Linked DNA regions of Homo sapiens: all the other regions are linked to region 2. The links are contacts of gene promoters, found by promoter capture Hi-C in human tissues and cell types (Jung and others, 2019). All regions are on one chromosome and are shown on one strand. The core of a region is centred on a gene start or on the middle of the fragment in contact, and the rest is flanking DNA. Distances in the headings are between cores, read along the strand shown.

Region 1 (3,980 bases), core at 65-2,564, 1.1 Mb before region 2:
ACTGTGCTGGGCTTCCTTATAGCTTTTTTTTTGAGACGGGGTTTCATTCTTGTCACCGAGGATGGAGTGCAGTGGCGCGATCTTGGCTCACTGAAACCTCTGCTTCCTGGGTTTAAGCGATTCTCCTGCCTCAGCCTCCCGAGTAGCTGGGACTACAGGCATGTGCCACTAAGCCCAGCCAATTACGTATTTTTAGTAGAGATGGGGTTTCACCATGTTGGCCAGGCTGGTCTCAAACTCTTGACCTCAGGAGATCCGCCTGCCTCAGCCTCCCAAAGTGCTGGGATTACAGGCATGAGCCACCGCACCTGGCCTTCCTCACAGATTTTTAAATCCACCCGGGAAGGGTAAGTATTCTCTTCATTTCACAGACAAGGGCATTGGGACCTGGAGACTAAATTATTTGCCCAAAGTCAGAGGATTCAATATGCTCTCTCCTCAATAGGATTACTGATATCACCCAAGCCTCACAGAAGAACAGAATTTCTGCCAGAGTTAACCATAAAGACCATTTCTAATTGATGGGAAATGGTCGCCTTTCAACTTCAGTAACTTGCAATTAAGGATATCATTTTACTTGCCTGAGCATTAAATTGTGAGAAAACACCAACGTGCACTTTTCTTAATTTCCCAAACCATAGAAGGGATAAGATGCTATAAGATTTTGCCCGGCTGGGCGCGGTGGCTCACGCCTGTAATCCCAGCACTTTGGGAGGCCGAGGCGGGTGGATCACGAGGTCAGGAGATCGAAGACTATCCTGGCTAACACGGTGAAACCCCGCCTCTACTAACAATACAAAAAAATTAGCCGGGCGTGGTGGTGAGCGCCTGTAGTCCCAGCTACTCGGGAGGCTGAAGCAGGAGAATGGCGTGAACCCGGGAGGTGGAGCTTGCAGTGAGCCGAGATCGCGCCACTGGACTCCAGCCTGGGTGACAGAGCGAGACTCCGTCTCAAAAAAAAAAAAAAAAGATTTTGCCCTTAAATTTCAGCTTTTTTCCCCCTCATCCAATTGCAAAAATTCATTTCTATTTACACAGAAAGTATACCTTTAAAAAAAAGTTACCAAAAAAATATGAAGCTCACTATTCTGGAAATACTCTTTCAAGGCTTCAGGAAAAGTACCTTTCCTACCAACTAGCAGTATTCACATAAATCCTAAGGGTCTGGCCCTCCTATAAGGATGATGATAAGTTAAATACTATGGGAAGAAAATCAGTCTCAAATTTAAAGGAATTAAAATGCCTGTAGTAAAAATCAGTGAGTAGGTGAAAATCTAGAAAATCTCTCTCTATTATCTCAATCTCAAGGACCATTACAAAACGGCAGAGTAAGACATGACATAGGAGACAGCAGAAAAAGATACATGGCTTTCCTTTCACTAAAAGTATGGCCGGGCGTGGTGGCTTGCACCTGTAATCCCAGCATTTTGGGAGGCTGAGGCGGGCAGATCACCTGAGGTCAGGAGTTCTAGACCAGCCTGGTCAACATGGTGAAATCCCATCTCCAATAAAAATACAAAAATTAGCTGGGTGTGGTGGCACATACCTGTAGTCCCAGCTACTCGAGAGGCTGAGGCAGGAGAATCGCTTGAACCCAGGAGGCAGAGGTTACAGTGAGCAGAGATCGTGCCACTGCACTCCAGCCTGGGCAACAGAGCGACTCCGTCTCCAAAAAAAAAAAAAAAAAAACCAAAAAACAGGATAGAGTGTAAACCAAAGTCAATTACATCTAAAGTTTTTCAAAGGAAAAAATAAAAACTGCTCCAAGGAATGAGTCATAAAGTGATATTTATAAATCAAGAATATCTTAGAAATTTCACATCATTGATCCACTCTCAAAAACTAACCTCAAGGTAAGAATCTCACTTCATCAAGTTATTTTTTCTAAGTTCACCAGATCTAAAGAAAGCTTGACTTTGTCCATGAGCTTCCAAGTAGTGTGGAAAATAATTTTCCTTGAAATCCACAGGCAAGGGATTGCATCCTAATTGCATCATTTGCTCTTTGTTTTGAGGATACTGGAGATAATTCTAAGGACAAGGGAGAGAGTTGTGCTTAAAAATACTCAGCCTAATCACAAAATGGAACCACTTCAAGAACAACTGCACCCTGAATTTATGGTAAAAAAAAATCCCAAATCAGTAGAGAAGTTTGGTTTTTCCCTGACAAGCAGCCTTCACCAATATAAAGTTGTATTTAAGAATAATGGCAGAGACAGTTTGAAATCTTAAAAAAAAAAAAAAAAAAAGAGAAAGAACGAACGAACGAACTTATGTTAAGGCAGAAACAAAATATCCAAAATATCCATAAATAAATGGACTTCCCCCCCAATACATTTTTCACTGGTGAAGATGATATTACAAACCTACATCCCAATCTAGCTAAAGGATCACTTATTGAAAGATTTAAGTCCCCAAATCTACCTAAACCCTGGGATCATTAGTTCATACTCCTATTGGTACAATTCAATTTTAAACTTTTAAAAAACCTAAGTCAAAACCAAGGGGGGCAAAACCAAGGGGGGAGAGAAGTATTCATAATAAACAAGGTAAGTGTGTTTTATAATCTTTAAAGTGCTTTCTCATTTGATCCTCAAAACAATCCCAAGCAGAAGTTGGTGCCCATTCTTCAGATGACAGAATCACAGCATTTTAAGGCTAGAAAGGACTAACTTCCCACCCAATGCTTCCCACTAGAAAAGAAGGGGTCTTGTCTGGTGGCAACCTACTATATTCCCAGGACCTAGAGTAGTACCTGGTATACGGTAGATGCTCATCAACATCACCTCTATTATATGTTCAAAAAGTCCAACCCGAACAGTTTTTGAAGGTGTTAACTCCAGTCCAGAAGTGATATGACCTGGCCAAGACCTTATGGCTGGCTACCTGTTCCCCACACTCCTGCTTCCTAACTCAGGGCAGGCTCCTCCCCCTATTCAGGTTGTCAGTGAAACTCTAAGGGTTTCCCAAGCTCCCCCGCAGAATTCACTGGTATCTGAAAATTTTAATTTATAGCCTTCTCCCTTACACAGGTGTTTGTTTCCTTCATATGTATCACTCTTCACTTAGTTCCACAACCCTTTATTTAGCACCTACCATGTGCAAAGGACCATGACGGTGAAGGATCCGAAGATGAGAGTCAGTGCTCTCCAGGGAGTTATAAGCTGATGAGAACTCTAAAAGGCAACACCAGGAAGCTCTGATGCATGGAGAACTGGACTTACAAATGTTGGGAGAAGAGATACTCTAGGCAGAGGGACCTCATGAACATACAAAGCCTGAACACAGTGTTCAGGAAAAAGCAAGTGGTCCGGCCTGATTGCAAGGTACAGTGCAGAGACGCCCCAACTCAGAATCAACCTATGGAAAGAACTATGAGGACAAGCAGCTAACAATTATTTAGGTGGTTTCTTACTTCTTACTTCCTCCTGATACCACTTTCCTTTATACTTGTCCCACCTACTCCTGGCAGAAAAAAAAAAAAAAAAAGCAGCCAACAAAAACTTCTGAATATTCTCCCTGTATCTTCATTACATACTTCGTACTTTAGAAAATTGCTCTCAGTAATATCTTATTATAATGGACAATTTCAGGATCAAAGGTACCAACTGTGGCTCCATACCCACCCAACAGGTCCATTAACCAATTTTTTTTTTTTTTTTTTTTTGAGACAGGGTTTCACTGTTACCCAGGCTGGAGTACAGTGGCGTGATCATGGCTCACTACAGCCTAGACTTCCCTCCAGTGATCCTCCCACCTCAACCTCCCAAGTAGCTAGGACTACAGGTGTGTGCCAGCACACCTGGCTTTTTTTTTTTCTTTTTTTTTTTTTTGAGACAAAGTCTCGCTCTGTCGCCCAGGCTAGGTGCAGTGGTGCGATCTCGGCTCACTGCAACCTTTGCCTCCCGGGTTCAAGTGATTCTCCTACCTCAGTCTCCCAAGTAGCTTGGATTACAACAGGCATGCCACCAGGCCTGGCTA
Region 2 (4,153 bases), core at 614-3,113:
GTCACACATGTAATCCCAGCACTTAGGGAGGCCAAGGTTGGCGGATCACCTGAGGTCAGGAGTTTGAGACCAGCATGCCCAACATGGTGAAACCCCGTCTCTACTAAAACTACAAAAAAGTAGCTGGGTGTGGTGGCAGGTGCCTGTAATCCCAGCCACTCAGGAGGCTAAGGCAGGAGAATCACTTGAACCCAGGAGGCAGAGGTTGCAGTGAGCCAAAATCGTCCCATTGCACTCCAGCCCACGTGACAAGAGCGAGACTCTGTCTCAAAAAAAAAAAAAAAAAAAAAAAAAGCCGGGTGCAGTGGCTCATGCCTGTACTCCCAGCACTTTGGGAGGCCGAGGTGGGTGGATCACCTGAGGTCAGGAGTTCGAGACCAGACTGGCCAACATGGTGAAACCCCGTCTCTGAGCCGAGATGGAGCCATTGCACTCCAGCCTGGGTGACAGGGTGAGACTGTCTCAAAAAAAACAAAAACAAAAACAAAATAAAACCTCTCTACATGCCAAGTGAAAGGTGGAAGTGGGGGTGAGACAGAAATCTGGGAGACCAAGAGACACGGTTGATGTGGGGGTGGGGGAAGGGCTTGGGTAGAGGAGAAGCTTGGATCAGGGAGAACAAGGAACTGAGAAAGAGGAATTCCACGTGGTCGAATGCAAAAGACTTGGAGGCTGTAAGCGGGGGCAGAGTGAAGATAAATGGTACACATCTAGGAAGACACCCAGGTCTGTGGCCTGGTTGACTGAGTGGACGGCAGAGCTAGCCCTAAGGTGGGGATGCAAGAGAGGTGGAGGATTTGGTGTAAGACGTCAATTTCATTGTAGGATTCTTTTTTCTTTCTTTTTTTTTTTTTTTTAGAGAGACTGAGTCTGACTCTGTCCCCCAGGCTTTAGTGCAGTGATGTGAATTCATAGCAGTCTTGATCTCCTGGGCTCAAACGATCCTCCCACCTCAGCCTCCCAAAGTGCTGGGATTCTCGGATTCCAGGCATGAGCCACCATGCCCGAACCATTGTAGGATTTTTTTTTTTAAGTGTGAGATGCCCTTGGGACACTCTAGGGAGAAATCGTAGAGGCCATTGACTACATGAGACTAGAAAGATCTATGATGGGGCTGGGTGGCTTCAGCAGACATGGGGAGCACTGGCTATGAGTAGGAGCTGTTGGGATCAGGGGGAGACTTTGGGTTACGAGTGGATCACTGGGACACTGGGGCACCGTGGGGATCAATACAATTTGGGAATCAGAGGTAGGTTTTGGAGGACAAGTGAGGTTGTTGAAAATAAGAAAATCATGGAAATATACATTGGAGGTTGGTGGAAAATATGAAGGATGTTTGGAGTTAGCATTAATCAATAGTGGGTCAGAGGAAGTCCTCTGAGTTGTGTGGGGACACAGGGATTTGGTGGGTCACCAAGGGTGGGGAAGAATGGTAGCAGATGCTGTGGTCATTCAGGGATTTGAATATGTCAGTGGGAAACACTGGAGGTCAGGGGAGTGTATATTGGGCGTCTAAGGAGAGACCAGGGTCACTTGGGGTTGGCTGTGACTTCATGGGAAGGCTGGACTATGGATGAGGGCTTCTTTGTCGTGGGGGAAAAAAAAAAAAAAATCCCTCCGTTGCTAGGCAAACGTTCCCAGGGCGCGGTTGCTAAGGACTTGAGCTTTCTAACTGGCCACGCCTCTTTCCATTGCGGGCTCCGCCCCCGCAGCCAACCACAAGTCGGTCACAGGCTCAAAGGCCGCGCCCACCTTCTCGCCCCGCCCACAGTCCCAGCACCGTTACCCGAGCGACCGCGGGGATTCGTCCCGCCTCCGGATCTGGGTGCCAATCGAAGAGGCGTTGCCCGGGCGACGACCCCACCTTTTCCGGCGCGGGCCAGCGGCTTCCGGGAGGGGGCCCGGCTGCGGGCGGCAGTCCGGCAGTGGCGGGGCCCGGGGGGCGCCCAAGATGGCGGCGGGCGGCGCGGAGGGCGGCTCGGGCCCCGGCGCCGCCATGGGGGACTGCGCGGAGATTAAGTCGCAATTCCGCACGCGCGAGGGTTTCTACAAGCTACTCCCGGGCGACGGCGCCGCTCGCAGGTCGGGTCCGGCTTCCGCCCAGACTCCGGTGCCGCCTCAGCCACCGCAGCCCCCGCCCGGCCCTGCCTCCGCCTCCGGTCCCGGCGCTGCAGGCCCCGCGTCGTCCCCGCCGCCCGCAGGCCCCGGACCCGGGCCCGCCCTGCCCGCCGTGCGCCTCAGCCTCGTGCGCCTCGGGGAGCCGGACAGCGCCGGGGCCGGGGAGCCGCCCGCCACGCCCGCGGGGCTGGGCTCGGGGGGAGACCGCGTCTGCTTCAACTTGGGCCGTGAGCTCTATTTCTACCCAGGCTGCTGTCGTCGTGGGAGCCAACGGGTGAGCGGCCTGCATCGTGGGGCCCTGGGTGCTGAAAGGATGGAGGTTCCAGAGAACTGATAGGAGGGTCCCCGAATTGATATGGGGCCCTGAGATAGGCATTCTAAATGTGATGGACGTTGTAGGGCGACAGCATTGGAGGGAGTACAGGATTCTGAAATGTGATGAGAGGCCCGCGGGGTGCTGGGCAGGCATCTTGGAGGTGATGGGGGAAATCCCCTTTACCCCCGTTATGCGTAGGAGTTCTGGGATGGTGACTATTGGACATGATGGGGTATCTGAGATGAGGTGGGATCCCCCGGGTTCTGGGGTGGCAGGCATTCTGCAGGTAATGGGGAATCATGAGGTGATGCAAGCCCAGAGGTGATGGAGAACCCAGTATTGCAGCCTGGAGGTGTGGGAGAGGGGTCTTGAGATTGAGCCCAGGAATGAGGAGAAGTCTAGAAGTGATGGGGGCCTTGAAGGTGATAGGGGATCCAGAAGCTGAATGGGATTCTAGAGAAAATTGGGGTCTGGAAGTCATGAGGGTCCTGGAGGAGATGAGCGTCCGGAAGCTGATGGGAGCTCTCAAGGGAATGAGAGGCCCTGGCAGGGGAATCTGCAGGTGTGATTCAGGACATCTCTAAAGCGATGTGGTGAGAACCCTGGCCGTTTATGGTGATCCCAGAAATGATGGGGATCCTTCGGAGCCCCTAGGTAATAAATGGGCCTAAAATGTGGGAGACCGTGAGGTTTGACGGGTCCCAGAACTGTGGCGGTTTAGGGACTACAAAGTGAAGAGAATGCTAGGATGTTAGGCTTTAGAGTCCTGGAAATTTGGGTGACCTCAAGGTTTGGGGGTCTTGGAATAGTGTGGTACTAGGTCCCAAGGGAGTTGCTGAGGTTATAGGATGGAGTGGTGAGGCTAAAAGGAATCGGAGCTTAGGAACTGTGTGGACCCAGAACCCTGATTATGTGGACAAGGGTGTCTCTGAATTAGAGGTGACCCAACTTTGGGGAGGCACTGTGGTCAAGGGGGATCCTTACCATCTTTTTTGCTACTCTTGTCTGTGATTTGGGTCCCCTTCCCGTCTGTGGTTGCCCCGTCCTTCGCAATCCACCTACTCACCTCCCCACTTCCCTCTGGGTTCTAACCCTGCTTCCTCTTAGTGGTTTCCCCCAACCTCAACATCCTCTTCCTTCTCCTCAGTGGCATACACCATTAACTCCTTTTCTCCCACCCCTCAAGTCCATTGACCTCAACAAGCCAATTGACAAGCGGATCTACAAGGGCACCCAGCCCACCTGCCACGATTTCAACCAGTTCACTGCTGCCACCGAGACCATCTCGCTGCTGGTGGGCTTCTCAGCGGGTCAAGTGCAGTACCTGGATCTCATCAAAAAGGACACCAGCAAGCTGTTCAATGAGGAGGTGATTGCAGCCCCCAGAGCCCCCAACTTCTCTGCCTTCTCACCTACCCACTATATGCCATTAGGATGCAGCTGCCTGCGGAACAGTGTAGGCCTGAGAGGGGCAGGACCAGGGAGAGATGGAGAATGGGGTGACAGCAGCTAATGACAGCTGCCTTTACTGTACCCAGGCCCTGTGCTGTGTTACCCTTGTGCTGAATACTTTACTCCTTGGGTTTTCTTTCTTTCTTTCTTTCTTTTATTTATTTATTTTGAGATGGAGTCTCACCCTGTCACCCAGGCTGGAGTGCAGTGGCGCGATCTCTGCTCACTGCAAGATCCACCTCCCGGGTTCATGCCATTCTCCTGCCT
Region 3 (3,946 bases), core at 1,447-3,946, 1.2 Mb before region 2:
GCGCCCAGTCACGTGGATGACCTGCTGGTGGTGGGCATGGTTGGAGGAGGGACAAGGCGGGCCAGTGGGGGCAAGAGGACCATCACTGGGCTGGGTTCCCTCTGTCCCCCACAGGTGCTGGAGGACTGGACACTGTGTGACCCCCCCAGTCCCATTCCCAGACCCAGTTCCCTAAGCCACCTGCAGCCAGTGAAGCCACCAGCCTGGTTCCCTCGGTCACCCTCAATCTGGGGACATGGCTGCCTGGAATACAGGAGCCTGACTGCTCACACCCACCTTGTACCCTGAGGCCTTGACGTGCAGCCCCCTCTTGGTGAGCGTGGATTTCATGCGGACAAAGAAGGAGCGCTCCTGGACCAGGGAGGAGGGGGGCACCTTGGTGAGGCTGGCCTCTGGGACAGAGAGTGAAGGAAGGTTATGGGGTCCTGAAGAGGAAACACACAGGCCACCCTGACCCTTGCAGAGCCAGCCGGACATAGACACAAGATGTCCGCTGGGCCACGGCCGCACTCAGAGGCATGCCTGATGATTTTGAAAGCTCATGGGGACAGTATGTGGGCTCCCCTATGTGGCAGCCATCCGCATCCTTTCTTTTTTTTTTTGAGACTGAATATCACTCTGTTGTCCAGGCTGGAGTGAATGGCGCAATCTTGGCTCACTGCAACCTCCGCCTCCTGGGTTCAAGTGATTCTTCTGCCTCAGCCTCCCAAGTAGCTGGGATTACAGGCACATGCTACCATGCCCGACTAATTTTTGTATTTTTAGTAGAGACGGGGTTTTGCCATGTTGGCCAGGCTGGTTTTGAACTCCTGACTTCAAGGGATCTGCCCTCCTTGGCCTCCCAAGGTGCTACGATTACATGTGTGAGCCACCATGTCTGGTCCCATCCATGTCTTTTTTTTTTTTTTTTTTGAGCTGGAGTCTCGCTCTGTCACCAGGCTAGAGTGCAGTGGCACGATCTCGGCCTACTGCGACCTCCGTCTCCCCAGTTCAAGTGATTCTCCTGCCTCAGCTTCCTGAGTAGCTGGAATTACAGGCACGCGCCATCATGCCCAGCTAGTTTTTGTATTTTTAGTAGAGACGGGGTATCGCCATGTTGGCCAGGATGGTCTCAATCTCTTGACCTCGTGATCTGGCCGCCTCGGCCTCCCAAAGTGCTGGGATTACAGGCGTGAGCCACTGCGCCTGGCCCCATCTACGTCTTTCTAATGCTCAAACGTGCCTCCACCCTCCCCTGCTCTGAACCTGCCATAGCTTCCTGAGGCCTTGAGAGGAAAGCCCACCTCTCAGGACCCATCCTCCAGGTCTCAGCACAGACTTCTCCTCCTCCAAGAAGCCCTCCCTGACCCTCAGGCTGGGTCAGCCATCCCCTCTGGGTTCCCCTATCCCAGCCCTGCCCCATCTGGGTTGCCACTGTCTGAGGACAGGTTGGTCTCCCCTCACTGGACTGGGAGCCCCAGGTGGGTGGGGCTGGAGCTGTCATGGTCACTCCTATGTCACCAGGACAGGGGCTGGCCCAGAACAGGGGATTGGGGAATAGCAATAAATAAGACTCACAAATCCAGATCCTTCTGTAACCCCTACAAAACGGTCTTAAAAATATGCTCACACACAGATGACCCTGTGCCTAAAACTCAGGTACAAACACAGTCCCACTCCCCAACAGCCTGCACGTGTTGCAGACTTCGCCCCACGCTTGCAAGCACAGCTGATGTCTCAGATGTTTTTGGTGTTAAGCAAACCCAAGATTGGAAAATCCTATTTACAGGATAGTTAGCCTCATAGGCCCCCAACATCTCAGAGCTAAAAAGAGCCGGCAGGGTAATCTGCAGCACCCTCCCTCCCATACACAGTGGGAGTGGAAATTTCCACTGGAGAGAAGGGTTAGGCGTGCTGACCCCGGAACAGACAGACCTGGGCTAGAATCCAACTCAATCACTTATAGCTGTGTGACCTGGGGGCAATTAACTTAACCTCTCCGCGCCGTGCCTCAGTTTTCTGATGTAAAATGGAGATAACACTTCTTGCATTGTGGGCCTGCGCTTAGGATCTAATGCAATTTTTTTTTTTTTTTTTTTTTTTTTTTTTTGGAGACGGAGTCTCACTCAGAGTGCAATGGCCTGATCTCGGCTCAGTGCAACCTCCACCTCCCAGGTTCAAGCGATTCTCCTGCCTCAGCATCCTGAGTATCTGGGATCACAGGCACCTGCACCACGCCCGGCTAATTTTTGTATTTTTAGTAGAGATGGGGTTTCACCATGCTGGCCAGGCTGGTCTCGAACTCCCGACCTCAGGTGATCCGCCCACTTCGGCCTCCCAAAGTGCTGGGATTACAGGCGTGAGCCACCGCACCCAGCCTTTTTTTTTTTTTTTTTCCAGACACTGGCTCTGTCACCCGGGCTGGAGTGCAGCAACGTGATCTCCTCACTGCAACCTCTGTCCCCAAGGCTCAAGCCATCCTCCCACCTCCCAAGTAGCTGGGACCACTGGCATGTGTCATCATGCCCAGCTAATGTTTTTTTCTTTCTTTTGTTGTTGTTGTTTTTTTTGGAGACAGTCTTGGACTCGCCCAGGCTGGAGTGCAGTGGCACAATCTCTGCTCACTGCAACATCCATCTCCTGGGTTCAAGTGATCCTTCTGCCTCAGCCTCCCGAGTAGCTGGGACTCAGGCACCCCCCACCATACCCAGCTAATTTTTTTTTTTTTTTTGTATTTTTAGTAGAGATGGGGTTTCACTATGCAAGCCAGGCTGGTCTCAAACTCCTGACTTTAGGTGACCCACCCGCCTCGGCCTCCCAAAGTGCTGGGGCTACAGCTTTGTGCCACCACTCCTGGCCTTTTTTGTAATTTTTGTAGAGATGAGGTTTCACTATGTTGCCCAGGCTGGTCTCCAACCGAGCTCAAGTGATCCGCCCCCCTGGGCCTCCCGAAGTGCCGGGGTTACAGGCGCGAGCCGCCGCGCCCGGCCCTAACGTAATTATGTAATGTGATTGTGCACTTACAGACACAGCCGGTGTATATTCCCAATAAGCCTGCCTTGTTATTTACCTAAGCCTCTCCCAACTCCTTTCAGCAGCCAGGGGGGTCTTTCTGTAGCTCGAATCTTTGGGAGTTTGGCAAGCTTAAGGAACCAAGTCTCACCGCCTCAATTTATACTCCGATTCCTTTTGCAAAGATTCGTTCTACACAGTTCTAACTTCACTGCTATTTGTATAAACGCGGCATGGCTGGATACAGTACAGCGGGCGTCCCCCGATCTACCCTCAGACTTCATTCTTTAGGAGCCCTTAGAATTACCGATCTCGGGGGTATCTGCAAGCGAAGAGGAAGAGGAGGAGGAAGAGGAGACGGAGGGCGGGGTTGGGGGGCCGGGCGTCGGCGTCCGCAGCCCCAGTTGCTCCAGCACCTCTGAGTGGTCCCCAGGGTGAATGTAGTCGAAGACGCTGCTGCCCGTCATCTCCACCTGCCGGCGAAGGAGGGGAATGCAGGGGGCGGGTGAGGTGCGCGCGCAGTAACTCGCTCGCCCTCTGGGCTCAGCCTTGCCTCATTTGCCTGCACGCAGGTGCGCTTCATGCCAGTGTGTTTTTTTAAGAAAAGAAAAAAACAAAAAACAATTACCTTTCAAACGGAAGATACAAACTTAGACTCTTCTCGCTTCATACCCAGTGATTAGTAAGGATTTTTCCCCGCCCACTCTATTAAGGGGCTGTGTGTGGGAGTGGGGCGTGGGTGGGAGGTGTCAGAACCTCCGTTTACCCAACTCCTGCTTACTCACTACCACCCCCATACAGCAAACAACTGTGCCCTGGCATGAATCACTGGGTGTCCCAGCAGGAATGAGATTCAAGATACAAACAGGGGAGTGGTTTTTAAGCTCTTAAAGAGTTAGAGCTTTTCAATCAGACACTTTTACATTCAATTCTACCCGTAAATCTCTCTCCTAGC

The links. Contacts are between HindIII fragments. The study calls those that stand out against the background at their distance.
Region 1: a contact is called between a fragment that was not itself captured here and the fragment with the promoter of DMWD in region 2, in 1 of the 25 tissues and cell types used here (hippocampus).
Region 3: a contact is called between a fragment that was not itself captured here and the fragment with the promoter of DMWD in region 2, in 1 of the 25 tissues and cell types used here (adrenal gland).

Annotation. Positions count from the first base shown.
Region 1 is chr19:46,892,155-46,896,134 of GRCh38, reverse strand. The region is part of intron 1 of ARHGAP35 (Rho GTPase activating protein 35); the gene reads right to left. Among named protein-coding and RNA genes, the nearest start is that of ARHGAP35, 33 kb to the right of the region's middle. RefSeq lists a silencer at 3,061-3,140. The HindIII fragment of the contact is 4,402 bases long and covers 1-3,515 here.
Region 2 is chr19:45,790,555-45,794,707 of GRCh38, reverse strand. DMWD (DM1 locus, WD repeat containing) reads left to right here and starts at 1,863. Exons shown (of 5, transcript NM_004943.2): 1 at 1,863-2,392; 2 at 3,621-3,803. The coding sequence starts at 1,952. RefSeq lists a silencer at 1,735-2,214 and enhancers at 3,363-3,412, 3,433-3,492. The HindIII fragment of the contact is 5,315 bases long and covers 1-3,130 here.
Region 3 is chr19:47,035,482-47,039,427 of GRCh38, reverse strand. NPAS1 (neuronal PAS domain protein 1) reads right to left here. Exons shown (of 12, transcript NM_002517.4): 6 at 3,299-3,464; 7 at 277-392; 8 at 1-21. Among named protein-coding and RNA genes, the nearest start is that of TMEM160, 11 kb to the left of the region's middle. The HindIII fragment of the contact is 4,479 bases long and covers 457-3,946 here.